2 separate regions of the Homo sapiens genome follow, and region 1 is linked to region 2. The links are contacts of gene promoters, found by promoter capture Hi-C in human tissues and cell types (Jung and others, 2019). All regions are on one chromosome and are shown on one strand. Each heading gives the region's core, a stretch centred on a gene start or on the middle of the fragment in contact. The rest is flanking DNA. Distances are from core to core; before and after follow the strand shown. Region 1 overlaps SPTBN1 (spectrin beta, non-erythrocytic 1). Region 2 holds the start of CLHC1 (clathrin heavy chain linker domain containing 1).

Region 1 (6,023 bases), core at 1,077-3,576, 630 kb after region 2:
CACAGATTTCCTCCTCTGTAAAGGAAGTGGCTCTAAGAATCTATTAATTAAGTAAATTGAATCACCTAGTCCCTCAAACATTTATCTGCTAGCTATTGCCAAGCTGGTGGTTAAGTGCTGGGGCTAAAATGCTGGCTGACAAAGACTGGGCTCCAGATAGAGTGCAAACATTTATGTTACCCAGGGTTTTGGACCACTGGTGCAGAAAGCCCAGCTAATGTTATCTGATGACACACTTAGCTGGGACATTCATTTACCCAGGCCTGGAAGCTCTAACCACCTCATTAGTTCTGGAATCTGAATATGCAAGGAACCTTTGGGGCAAGCTCTCATGGAGGTCTTCTGCAGGGAGGATCTTTAACTTGAGGTCCTGGCAACCTCCACGGCCAAAGGCAGTGTGTGGTGTGTTTCCTTTCCAGGAAGTTCCATGAACCAAACAGACTACGAGGCCAAAGAGACTTAAAATCTCCAGCCCAGATGAACAAGAGCTTTAAGAGCACTCTATCTATGGTATCTTTATTTTTGGAATAAGAAAATTAGACTGGCCAACCTATATAATCCAAGATGGCTGTGAAGAATGGGTAATACAAATGAAGGCACTAGGGGCTTTACAAAGTTCTGTAAAACTACTGATATCGACTGCCTAAGAGGTTGGAGATGGTAGCCACTGTACCATCTTCTTCATCCTTACTCTCCTAGGTCTCTGGGTTGCCACAAAAAAACTTACTGCTAACAAATAAGGAGAGGAGTGGGAGATACTCACACACATCTAAGAATTATGCTTTACTGGTTTTTCTCCCTACTTATATTTTTCTTGCCCTGTTCAGAAAAAACGGCAATGGGCCTGATCCCATTTATGATGTGGACATTATCAAGGACACAATCTTCTTGGTATAAAATAATTATGGGTCTTTAAAGGTGAACAGTTTACTCCCTACAGCCTAGAAGATTGGACCCTATTGGAACAAAAATAAATTAAAAAAAAAAAACCACAAAAATAAATGTTCAGACTAACTCCTATCCATGTGACCTTTAATGATTTTTTTTAGCTACTTTCAAAACACCATTCCCCCACTCCACAAAAAAAAAAAAAAAATCAATAAATAAACATACTAGGTTAAACACTAAGAAACAAAAAAAGGTTGAGAGGTAGACAAAGGAAGTCTGGTTATAAAAATTATACTTAAAGCTGCATATCACAATAATTCTAGTCTAGGCTCTCAAACAAGACTCACTTTGGAAAATCAAATCAAAATGCAATAAATGGCCTGTTCAAACTCCCCATGTGGGTCCACTCCCTCACCCCCAGACCACAAATCAACTGCCTTCTTATAGCCATCATGGTTTTGAGCAGGGGTCTCCGTTATTTGTCTAGTTTGTCTAGTGTGACCGACAAACCCTCACAGAAAATGAGGCCACAAGACCTACATGCTCAGGAACAAAGGGCATGGATGAAACTCACTACAGAGAAGACAGGGCTTCACTATCTTCTGGAGAGCCCTGTTCTTGAACTGAAGGGCAGGGAAGAGAATACTTTTCTGGCTCCATTTCAACCCAGACTCAAAGAGGCAGTCTGTCTCTGAGCTGATAACAAATAGGACAAGGGACAACCTTAGACCCTTGCCTGCGGTCAGAGGTGTGGGGCAGGTCTGCACACAGGCCTACTGCGGCTGGCAAGCTACAGGGTGGAGATCAAGTTAAAAATAAGGCTTTCTGGCAGCCCTGCCAACTGCCAGCATCATATTTTCCTGGTGATGTCAGTACAGATGTGGTCTCCATTCTGGGCGTTGGCTTCTGGCTCGGCACCACTTCCACCTATGGCACTACATGTGCTCTGGGAGGATACAGCAACCATTTTCAAACCAAGGTGAGACAAAACCTGTTGGATCAGTCACAGTGACTGCTTTAAGCTTCTTTGGTATAAGGTGCATAAACAAGAGTCACATCAGAGAGGGCCGCAGCAGCTCTGGGAAACAGATTGGGGATACAATTTTCATTGCAGGCTGACAACTTTCCTGCCTGAAAAGGCAGGGTGAATTCATCAGAAGCTCCTTTCCCAAGGAGATGACAAAACACCAGCTTCTCCCTCCACTCCCAAAATAAAAAGCGTGCAGGGAAGAAAACATCAGTGGCCACTGAATTCAATGCTTGCCACCTTAAGATGGCAGCTCAGATTTTCTAGACAACCAGAAAGACACAAATTTAGAAAACATTCCATCATCGCATGTGGGACACAGGTTCATCTAGAAGCCAGCGCCCAAGCCTGGCCCTTCAAATTCCAGCACCATGCCCTGTTCTTGGCAGGAACCCCAGCCAAGTTCTTTCTGACCAAAGGTGGCAACCTTGCAAATTACCAGAACAAAGTGGCTTTATTACAGCTCAAGAACATCATCCACGCTCAGAATGTGACACTAAGGCTCTCCCTGAAGCGCTCAACTCACTTCTCAAGATTCTCCTCAAAACTATCAACCATTAAGTGCAGAATTCAACAGGAGACAAGTCACACTTGATTTTTCAAAAATATTTTCCACCTACAACACACGGCACTTCCTAAGGTCTCCACTCACCAGCCTCTCTCCAGAGAGGACCTCCAGCAGCTTGATGAGCATCCGTCCATCTCGAAGGTCAGTGTACAGGTCTGTGATCCGGCAGGACACACGGGCAAGGTGGGAATTGACCCACTTGGTGAAGGTCTTCTTCTGCACGGCTTCACGCTCATCTGCAAGCAGAGAAGAACTTGTTTTACCATTGACCACAGAACTGGCAGGAGCAGGCACATGCTAGCAGGGCCACAAGACCCCAGCCAGAGGAAGGTCAGCAAAACTGACCTCCAAGGACACCTCTACTTAGCGCCCCTTAACTGCGGTCATGTCTTTGAGAAAGAACACTGATTACTGATGGTTCAACTTACAATTTTTTGACTTTACGATGGGTTTACTGGGATATAATCTCATAAGTCAAGGAGCATCTGTGTAGGAACTGTCCAGTCCTTAAACATGTGAGCTCCCAGGCACACTGCCAGCAGAACATCCTTTGCTCCCCTTTCTTTTCTCCCATCCCTGCTGAAGAGGCAGCAGGATGCAGATGACAACAGGGTCCTTTGCAGTCCTGCCCTATACCATAATACTTGACTGGTAAAGCTTCCTACATACATGTTACAGCTATTATTCCTCCAAAAGGTGAGTATATTAAAGGGTGTAGGGTAGGAAATCTCATGAGACAGCAGAAAACTGCTTCCCTCATCTACAAAGGATTGGGCAACACTGGACAAGATAAATTAACTCATGACCTTGGCAATGACCGTCTTCACCTGCTCAGTCACACACACCATGAACAACAAAAGAAAATGGCAAGCAACATGGTAGAGTGCAAAGACATCGCAGGCATCGGGAAGTCTTTGCAGGCATCGGGAAAGCAGGGTCTGGGCCCAAGGTTTCAACAAAAATGTGACTCAACACAGGATTCAATGTTCTCTTCTATAAAAGGAGAAGAAAAATATAATCTCCATACTGTGATCCTTCGCTGAAAAGGCAACTGCTGATTTATGGTCTAAAGCGTGATTGTTGTACATTCAAGTCATCCAGGAAACAGTGTTAAAGGTTTTTCAAAGCTCAGTAATCAAATTCTGTCCAATTTAAGGTATAAAACTCTAGACATATTTGCCCAGAACTGGCCTTCACATACCATACAAATAGGCTTTCAAACTTCTTGCCTCTGCAGAATGTTCTAAACATAGGTTGCTGAAGACCTTCAACAGACATCCACAGAACGTACCCTGGACCCAACCACTCTTACTCCCTGACTCTGTTCTCTATGTTACATACACTATATCTAGTTCCACCAGCATGAATTTATGCCAAAAATCTAAGACCTACTCCTAGTGCAAACCCAAATGACAAAAATAATTACACACGAATCTACAAAAAAAAAAAAAAAAAAAAAAAGCAGATAGCTCAACAATTTGGCATGTATTTCAAAACCACTGGGTGGGGGTAACAACTAAAAAGCCACCCTTGCTAATAAGGCATGTGCCCAGTCGCCTGAGAGTACTGGGTTCTCAGGTTGGCCAGAAGGACAGCAAACAGCCCAACACCCTGGGAAGGTCTGTCTGAAGGCTTTGCTAAACTCACTCCACCACCCACCACAGGGAGGGAATGAGGCAGAGATGACATTGGTTGAGGTTTTACAGCTGCCGACCTGGCAGGAGAATCAGCTGGGGCACCTGCCAAGATCCCCGGCCACCTGCTACAGTCAGCGGCTCCTTGAGGTCCTGCCTTTCCCAAAAAGGACCTACCCATCCAGACAGAAGGAGGGCCCTTCCCCAGGGACAAAGGCCAACCAGAAACACAGGATCAAAAAGGACAGGATTAGAGGAAGCAGAAAAAGACAGTAAGGGGCAGGCTGCAGTGGAGAAGCAGCTGCACCAATAACATCATGACAGGTCCCACAGAAAAGACCACATGCATTATTGATCACGTAATCATTGTGATGGATGGCAACTTTACTACAGTGACTCAGGAGCTGTAATTCTGGGGCTAAGCTTGGCCATTCTGAAAGAGCAGGTCTAGAGCAGAATATGTAAGGTGCATTTCACAGATGGCCTCTTATCAAGGAGGCAAGTAACTCATAGTTTATATGTATTTAGGGTTAACAATTTTTTTTGTGAATTATAAAATCCTTTATGCGTTATACTGGAGTCAGAAAATGTCTTTAATGAAGCAAGGGAGCAAGATCAAAATGAAAACCTGCTTGGATTAAAATATTTCTAAATAAACAAGCACAAAATGTGTTCCTCAGCCAATTGTCACTCTTTTGGGTGAATCTCTCACTAAAGGAGCACCCAGACTTCTTTCAGGTTTTGAATTAACAGGTTCTTTCACAAGGAAACTCTGAGGATTTGCCAGAAACAACAGTCAATATACTTCCTTAGTGCCCTGTCCTAAAGAGTTACAGCCCAATCCCAACCCTCCTCCCTACAGAGAGGCAAATGGAGAGGTCATGGGTGGGTGCAGAGAACAGAGCTGAAACAGACTGAGATCTGTGCCGGGAGGGCTCCCCAGGGCTATCATGGTTCTTAGAAACTCAAAGTAGGTGGGAGGAAAGAAGAGGAGGAAGAGATGTCAAAAATAAAAAAACAAGCTCTTGTGTTCCTGCCCTCTCTTCCTGTTCCCCTCCCTTCGAACTCTCCTCACAGTCAGGAGCAGGCCCCACGAAGTGCAAGAGTGCTGGAAAAATCACGCAGGGTCTAAGTTCCTCAGGTTCACACCCCCACGTTGGAAAAGACACAGAAGATTCCATCCGGGGACCAGACCAGAATCAACACCCTCATAACACACGAGGGGCAGGAAACGGACTCAACAGAGACACACAAAGCCCCAGTCAACTAGCGTGTCCTCTTACAATGGAGCACTTGGAGAACAGCAAATGCTTATGAAGTTGGAAGGAGGGAGACAGAGGGGAAAAGAAATCTATTTGGTGGCTCAGTAGAGGATCAGGCTTCGGGTCCTTGGGGACTCCCTCCTTTGTTCCACCTATCCTGGGAAGGCACAATGACATCACCCCTGCACTCCCCACCCAGCAAGGCTTGGGGATATGGGCCAGACAGTCTGAGGAGGAGCAGGAGGCCCTTGGCACTGACGATGAAAGGCAATCCAGGAGTGCTTCCAAGCTCAAGCTGCTGTGACTGGGGCTAGCTGCGTGAGGAGGTGTTGGGGCAGCAGAGGGCAGTGAGCCGACTTCCAGGCCTATGAGCATGAAGCAACCGTGGTTGCTTCTTACAACCACGGTACAAAAGGTACAAAAAGGTACAAAAAGGTAGCACTTACAAGCTCCATACTGGTTTGGTTATTTAGACCCAAGGTTCTCCAGCAGGGGCAATTTTGATTCCTCGGCACATTTAGCAGTTTGGCAATGTCTACATACAGTGTTGATGGTCACGATTCATGGGTAGATGCTACTGGCATTTAGAGGGTAGAGGCCCAGGATGCTGCTTAACATCCTGCGGTACACAGGATGGCTCCCAT
Region 2 (6,793 bases), core at 84-2,583:
CCAAATTCACGCAAGTGAAATACACCTCAAGGATTCCAATCTAGGTACTGTGCTCCCCGATCACCAATGTCTATTGTGTTATTCCACAAGTATTTCGCTTTGTCAATCTGACCCCTTCCCCCATCACCAAGAGCAGGTATGTCTAGCACCTACAGGTAGGCCGAAGTCTCCGCAGGTTAAGTTTTCTTAACTACAAAATACTACTTGCCTTCCTTATCCTGGATCTTGGCCTTTACATTTTCTATCGTATCCGAGGGTTCAACCTATGAGTGTTAAAGTGAAAGCATGTTGGTTACACATTAAGGAACTACAGCAGAACTCATTTAGTTTGACAATTACCACTGAACCGAACCAGCGACAGGGCTGAGACCTACTCGAGAGACCTATTACCCACCCAGTGGGCAACCTCCCAAGTCGGCTACCGGAAAGCACCTTCATCTCCCCAGCCCAGAGCGGGCGGCGGCCGCAGGGCCACACGTGCTCGCACCCGGCGGGCAGAGCGTCTCCTTCCCCACCGCAGCTCCTCCGTTTTAACTAACTAGCTGGAACCCCTCGAGAGGAGACAGGTCCAGCCTTTGGCCACCGAAAATCACCTCTAGGTCGTTGCTCAGCAAAAGGTACTCATTTCAAAGCTTAAGTTTTAGAACCCAAATTCGGAATCATGGTCTAAGACATGGAAAGCAGCGCCGGTCCTAAAATCCACCTCAGGACCTTATTCGGACCTTGGCTTCCTCATGACCACCCGGCCCGTACCTCGAGGGTGATGGTCTTCCCCGTAAGGGTTTTCACGAAAATCTGCATTTTGGTGGCGGCTCCACCTGAGGTTGAGGAAAAGGAAGAGACAGGTTAGGTCAGGGATCACAAGAGAAGGCACCATAGGGTGCTAACCCGAGAGCAGCCGAAGTGCAGACACCCACCGCAGATGGCGGATCGAAAAGGAAGAACGCCGCGCAGGCCCACGGGGTTTCCCGGAGCTCCCGCCGAAGGACCCACCCCTTAGGCGACCACACCAAATGCCTGACTGCCGTCCCAGCGACAATCCAACCCGGTGCCAGACTAGGACGTGAACTTCGTTTCTCCTCTCCCTAGCCTGGGCTTATTTCTCACTTTAGCCTTCGGAATGCTTTCGAAACTGTAGGTTTAAGCAACGTAAAAGATGTTTTAAAAAGGCTTTTCCCGTACAATCAACGTGGCTAAGAGAATTTTTAAAAGGAGGTCGAGGGGGGCCTCTTGGGGAAGAGGTAGGAAATGGAAGTGCATTCTGGGAACTGTAGTTCTCCACTGCTTTCTTCTACCTTGGACTACTTGTCCCAAGATGCAGTTCCACCTCCCAGATTCCCTAGTTACTATCTCTAAGCACTGAAGTCGGTGTTTGGAGAAAAGGACTCAGGTGAGGACTGGAGGTAGGATGAAGCGGAATAATGGTTTCCGGAGCGTGGGAACGGGCCGGAAGTGACTAGAGCAAATGTTAAGCGGGGGGCAAAGGGTGCGGGGCACGAAAGGTGTCCTTCACTCACTTCCAGAAGCGGTGATGGGCAGAGAATCAGCAATCTACCAGACGCTCCTTGGGCCTTCAAGGGAAGGGAATTTGCGTGGCCTGCTCCAGGCAAACTGAAAAATAGGTGAAATCTGCGGAAGCGGGGGTTCAGCCCTTTCTCTCCTGTAGCGCCTCCCTGCTTTCAACCGCCGAGTCTCTCCCAGCCTAGGGAAGAGTCTGGGTCTTGTGTGTCACTCCTTAGTGTGACACGCTTTAATATGTTGAAAAATCTCAGGAGTTTTCAAATTTTAAAGTGAAGCCGTACGGAAAAGAAACCTGCAGAATGGTTATTTAGTTGTAGAATTTCCAAATTTGGGCATTGGGAGTCTTGGATCTGAGAGGAAGTTTTTGGAGTATGTATGGGGTGCTTCTTCCGGCAAGGAGGCCAATTAGAAGCAAGTTCTCCCTGTCCTTTCTCCACTCCACAAACCAGAGTCCTTTCTAATGTCTTCTGTATTTATTTCTTCATCCTCTGCCCTCTGCGACCCCATCCCCAAATTCAGACCTTAATTTTCTCTTGTAGGGGTTCCGAATCTAACTCCTTATCTCTCTCCAGTCTTTCCTCCTTTCTAACCCACCTTCACTATTGCCTCCAAAATATTCATTCTGAAAGGTAAATGTGTGTTATTATTTTATACCTCACCTTCAGGATACAATTCAAATTTCTTAGAATGACATTCAGCCTCTGCCTTCCTTACAACCTAATCTGCTAAACCCATTACTCTACATTTTAGTAAATGAAGCTAATTTAATTTCCTGACCTATGCCCTCCCGTGTTTTGGCATTTCTGAAGAATCCAGTCGTTTATTCTTCCTGGAACTTTTTTTTTTTTTTTTCGTGAGACGGAATTTCGCTCTGTTGCCCAGGCTGGAGTGCAGTGGCGCGGTCTCGGCTCACTGTAAACTCCGCCTCCCAGGTTCAAGCAATTCTTCTGCCTCAGCCTCCCGAGTAGCTGGGATTACAGGCGCCCACCACCACACCCGGCTAATTTTTGTATTTTTAGTAGAGATGGGGTTTCACCATGTTGGCCAGGCTGTTCTCTAGCTCCTGACCTCAAATGATCCATCCTCCTTGGCCTCCCAAAGTGGTGAGATTACAGGCGTGAGCCACCACGCCCTGCCTCCTGGAACATTTTTCATCCCCTAGTCCGCCAACTAGTCTCTACAACAAAATTTCCTAGAGTTGCTTGTACATATTGTCTCTAATCTTTCCCTTCCGTTGTCTGAACCCACTCCTGTCAGGCTTTTGTCCCCACCATTCTGATCGGATAGCTCTTGTAATGGTCACTAATGACCTCCATGTTGCTAAATTCAATGGTCATTTCATCTTATTTGATCTGTCAGCAGTATTTGACACAGTTGCTCATTCCATCTCTCTTTGAAAACCTTTCAAAGACTTCACCTCTCAGTTTTTCTGCCACCCTGGAGGCTCTTTTCCAGGCTCATTTGCTGCTTCCTCTTGATCTGCAAGACCTCTAACCATGGAGTATCCCCAAGGCCCAGTCCTTGGACCTCTGCTTTGTCTGCATTTTCTTGGTTATCTCATTTTTGTTTAATAACTTTTAAAGTATCATCATATGCAAATGACTCATAAACTTATCTGTCAGACCAGATATGTCACAGATATGTCACAACTTCATCTTCACATATCCAGCTATCTACTCAACATCTCTAATGGACAGGCCCCAAACACTTAATCTCATGAAATTGCTCTTCCCATGTTTATATATGGCAATTCCCATTTCTCCAGTCACTAAGGCCAAAAACTTTATGATTATCCTTGACTGTTCTTTTATATCCCACATCTTATCTACCTTGGCAGATCTTGGCTTTATTTTCAAAATATATGCAGAACACTTCCTACCACCTCCATTGTTAGCACCCTGATTCAAGCCACCATCATCTTTTGCCTTGATTATTGCAGTAGCTTCGTAACAGCACTTCCAGCTTTGACCCTTGCGTCCTATAATCTGTTTTCCACAGAGCAACAAGAACAATTCTTTTTTTTCTTTTTTTTGAGATGGAGTTTCGCTGTTGTTGCCCAGGCTGGAGTGCAATGGCACAATCTTGGCTCACCGCAAACTCTGCTTCCCGGGTTAGGTGATTCTCCTGCCTCAGCCTCTCCAGTAGCTGGGATTACAGGCATGCGCCACCACGCCCAGCTAATTTTGTATTTTTAGCAGAGACAGGGTTTTTCCATGTTGGTCAGGCTGGTCTGGAACTCCCGACGTCAGGTGATCTGCCCGCCTTGGCCTCCCAGAGTGCTGGGATTACAGGCATGAGCCACCATGCCTGGCCAAGAACAATTCTTTAAAATGTTAAGTCAGCTCTCCCACTCTTCTGCACACAGGCCTCTAAAGGCTTCGAATCTCACTCAGAGGAAAGCCTAAATTCTTACAAGTGAGGCTGTTGCTCCAGTGCTGGAACAAGTAGAGGCCACAGTCCAGTGTTGCTCCTCTTGCCAAGTCTGCCCAGAGAAAGGGACCTCTTTTTCTAAACCGCACAAAGGTACCCCCTAGGCTGATAGTAGTTCTGCCCTCAAGACCCTACATGCTACATAATCTGGCAGTTACCTCTCTGATCTCATCTCTTCTCTCCCTTTCTCATTCTCTTCTAGCCCCACGGGCCCTCTAGCTGTTCCTCAAATGTGTTGTCCCACCCTGAGGCCTTTGGACTGGCTACTCTCTTTGCCTCAACCACTCATCTCCCAGGAATCTACATGACCTGCTATTTTCAGATTTCTGAAATGTCACCTTATCAGTAAGCTCTTTTGTCTTTCCTGACTTACTGCCCTTATAGAAAATGGTATCCTCCCACCTTCCTTACTCTCTATCCCCCATACCTTGTTTTATTTTTCTTCATACAACTTAACCCCTATCTGTCATACTATATTTCTATATATATATAATTTTTTTCTTTCTTTTTTTTTTTTTTTTTTTGAGACAGAATCTCCCTCTGTCGCCCAGGCTGGATTGCAGTGGTATGATCTTAGCCCACTGCAACCTCCACCTCTCTGGTCCAAATGATTCTCATACCTCAGCCACCTAAGTAGCTGGGATTATAGGTGTGAGCCCCTGCGCCCAGCTAATTTTTATATTCTTTAATAGAGACTGGGTTTTGCCATGTTGGCCAGACTGATCTCAAACTCCTAACCTCAAGTGATCCACCTGCCTCGGCTTTCCAAAGTGCTGGGATTACAGGCATGAGCCGCTGTGCCTGGACTATTTTTTTTCTTGTGTGTTGTCTGTTTCTACATGAATGTAACCTTTGTGAGATTAGGGACTTTGTTTTGTTCAATACTGTGTCTCCATTGTCTAGAATAATGGCAGACAAACAATAGGTGTCCCCCAAATATTGAATAAATAAATGTAGCACAACTTAAGCATTGCCCTAGATTTTGTTTTACTAGATGTTTTCCCTAATGTTTCCTTGCCCCCTTCCGTAGGCTGATGAGATGCCCCTCTGGCCTTCTGTAGCCTATTGTGCTTACCTCTGTCACACTGCCTTTTCTGCTTTGTAGCAGTGGCTCATTTACTAGACCTGGAACACTTGACTGGGAACCCTTGTGACTTGTCAACACATCCCTAAATGTCTAATATGAATGAATGAATGAATGAATGGTAATCTTGGTTGGTTTATGTAACTCAATGGCATTTTGTAGATGTTAAGGAACAATCCCTTTAGCTGTGTTCTGGTTTGAGAGCACCACAAGTCCAATGTCTTATGAATAGACTAGATTATTGTTCAGTGATTATTGATTATTCAGCAAACATATGTTTGAGTACTGCTCTGCTAGAAACTGCATTATGCACTTGAATGCATATGGTAGAGGAGGGATGATGGGGAAAGAGAACATTTTGTTTCCTGATCTTGTCACGCTTACAGCCTAACAGATGAGACAGAATATAAACAGGAAGTCTCTAAGGCAGTGTGGTGGAAGGATAATACCATGATGGAGGAAGTGCACAGTATTATGGGAGAACATAGCAGTGGCATCTGACCAATTTTAAGGGAATCCAGGACAGCTTTCCTGAAGCTGAAGAAAGAGTAAAAGCCAGGTGAATCAAAGTGATAGTATGTATGTGTTTTGGGGGTTGGGGGTAATATAGGAGGATGGTCTGCAGGGAGGGGGAGAGAATTATGTAAGATCCTAAGGTAAGAGAGGAAGTTCATGGGTGTGGGAATGGGGATATGGGGCAAAGGACAGGGACATGAAGAGAGTAAATTTGGTCAAAGAAAAAGAGTCATTAGTTTCTGAAGGGCACTAATAGGCCAAGTAAAGGAACTTGGATTTTATCCTAAGGGTAATACGGTAGGAAGCCACTGGTGTCCAAATGTCACTACCCCCTCTCTAATGATAACACCCGTTTCTTCCTCTTTTGACTTTTATCTTTTACTTTTTTTTTTTTTTTGAGATGGAGTCTTGCTCTATTGCCCAGGCTGGAGTGCAGTGGCTCAATCTCGGCTCACTGCAACCTCCACCTCCTGGGTTCAAGTGATTCTCCTGCCTCAGCCTCCTGAGTAGCTGGGATTATAGGCGTGTGCCACCACTCCCAGCTAATTTTTGTATTTTTAGTAGAGATGTGGTTTCACCATGTTGGTCAGACTGGTCTTGAACTCCTGATCTCGTGATCTGCCTGCCTCGGCCTCCCAAAGTGCTGGGATTATAGGCGTGAGCCACCGCGCCTGGTTATCTTTTACTATTTGAAATTATTTATTTATAGTTTGTCTCCCCTACTAGATCATAAGCTTCAAGGAGCCAGGGACCTTATCTTACTTATTGCCGAATTCCTAGCTGTGAAATGGTGCCTGGTGCTTTGTTGACACTCAATAAATACTGACTGAATGAATGAATAAACAAATGTATTTCTCATTTAGGAAAACTTGATTAATTAATGAGTTATTCCCTTGCTGGAACTACTTTATATTAATTCATAAATTGACTTTTTGCTATCCAGTTCATCAACATGAAGATAATTTTGGCCTTTTAATCTTCAGAATTATTTTGGTGTCTCCTCTTCTGTATATGGCTATGGGCAGTATTTACAGGCTGTATATGTTATTCACATAATCAGGTATCAGTTATATTGCCAGAACATGATACAATTGATTGAGACACTTACTTATCATGGCATTGTTTATATTAGTGAAAATAGCAGCCAGGTGCAGTGGCTCATGCCTGTAATCCCAGCACTTTGGGAGGCCAAAGCAGGCTGATCACTTGAGGCCAGGAGTTCAAGATCAGCCTGGCCAACAG

Evidence for each region. Contacts are between HindIII fragments. The study calls those that stand out against the background at their distance.
Region 1: a fragment that was not itself captured here is called in contact with the fragment with the promoter of CLHC1 in region 2 in 1 of the 25 tissues and cell types used here (pancreas).

What each region holds. Positions count from the first base shown.
Region 1 is chr2:54,595,788-54,601,810 of GRCh38, reverse strand. It overlaps SPTBN1 (spectrin beta, non-erythrocytic 1), which reads right to left. Exons shown (of 36, transcript NM_003128.3): 3 at 2,568-2,719. Among named protein-coding and RNA genes, the nearest start is that of SPTBN1-AS1, 40 kb to the right of the region's middle. RefSeq lists enhancers at 4,233-4,282, 5,347-5,716. The HindIII fragment of the contact is 3,029 bases long and covers 812-3,840 here.
Region 2 is chr2:55,226,833-55,233,625 of GRCh38, reverse strand. It overlaps CLHC1 (clathrin heavy chain linker domain containing 1), which reads left to right and starts at 1,333. Exons shown (of 13, transcript NM_152385.4): 1 at 1,333-1,403; 2 at 5,422-5,594. It overlaps RPS27A (ribosomal protein S27a), which reads right to left and starts at 938. Exons shown (of 6, transcript NM_002954.6): 1 at 918-938; 2 at 754-818; 3 at 209-263. The coding sequence starts at 801. RefSeq lists enhancers at 659-838, 859-1,288. The HindIII fragment of the contact is 6,944 bases long and covers 1-6,670 here.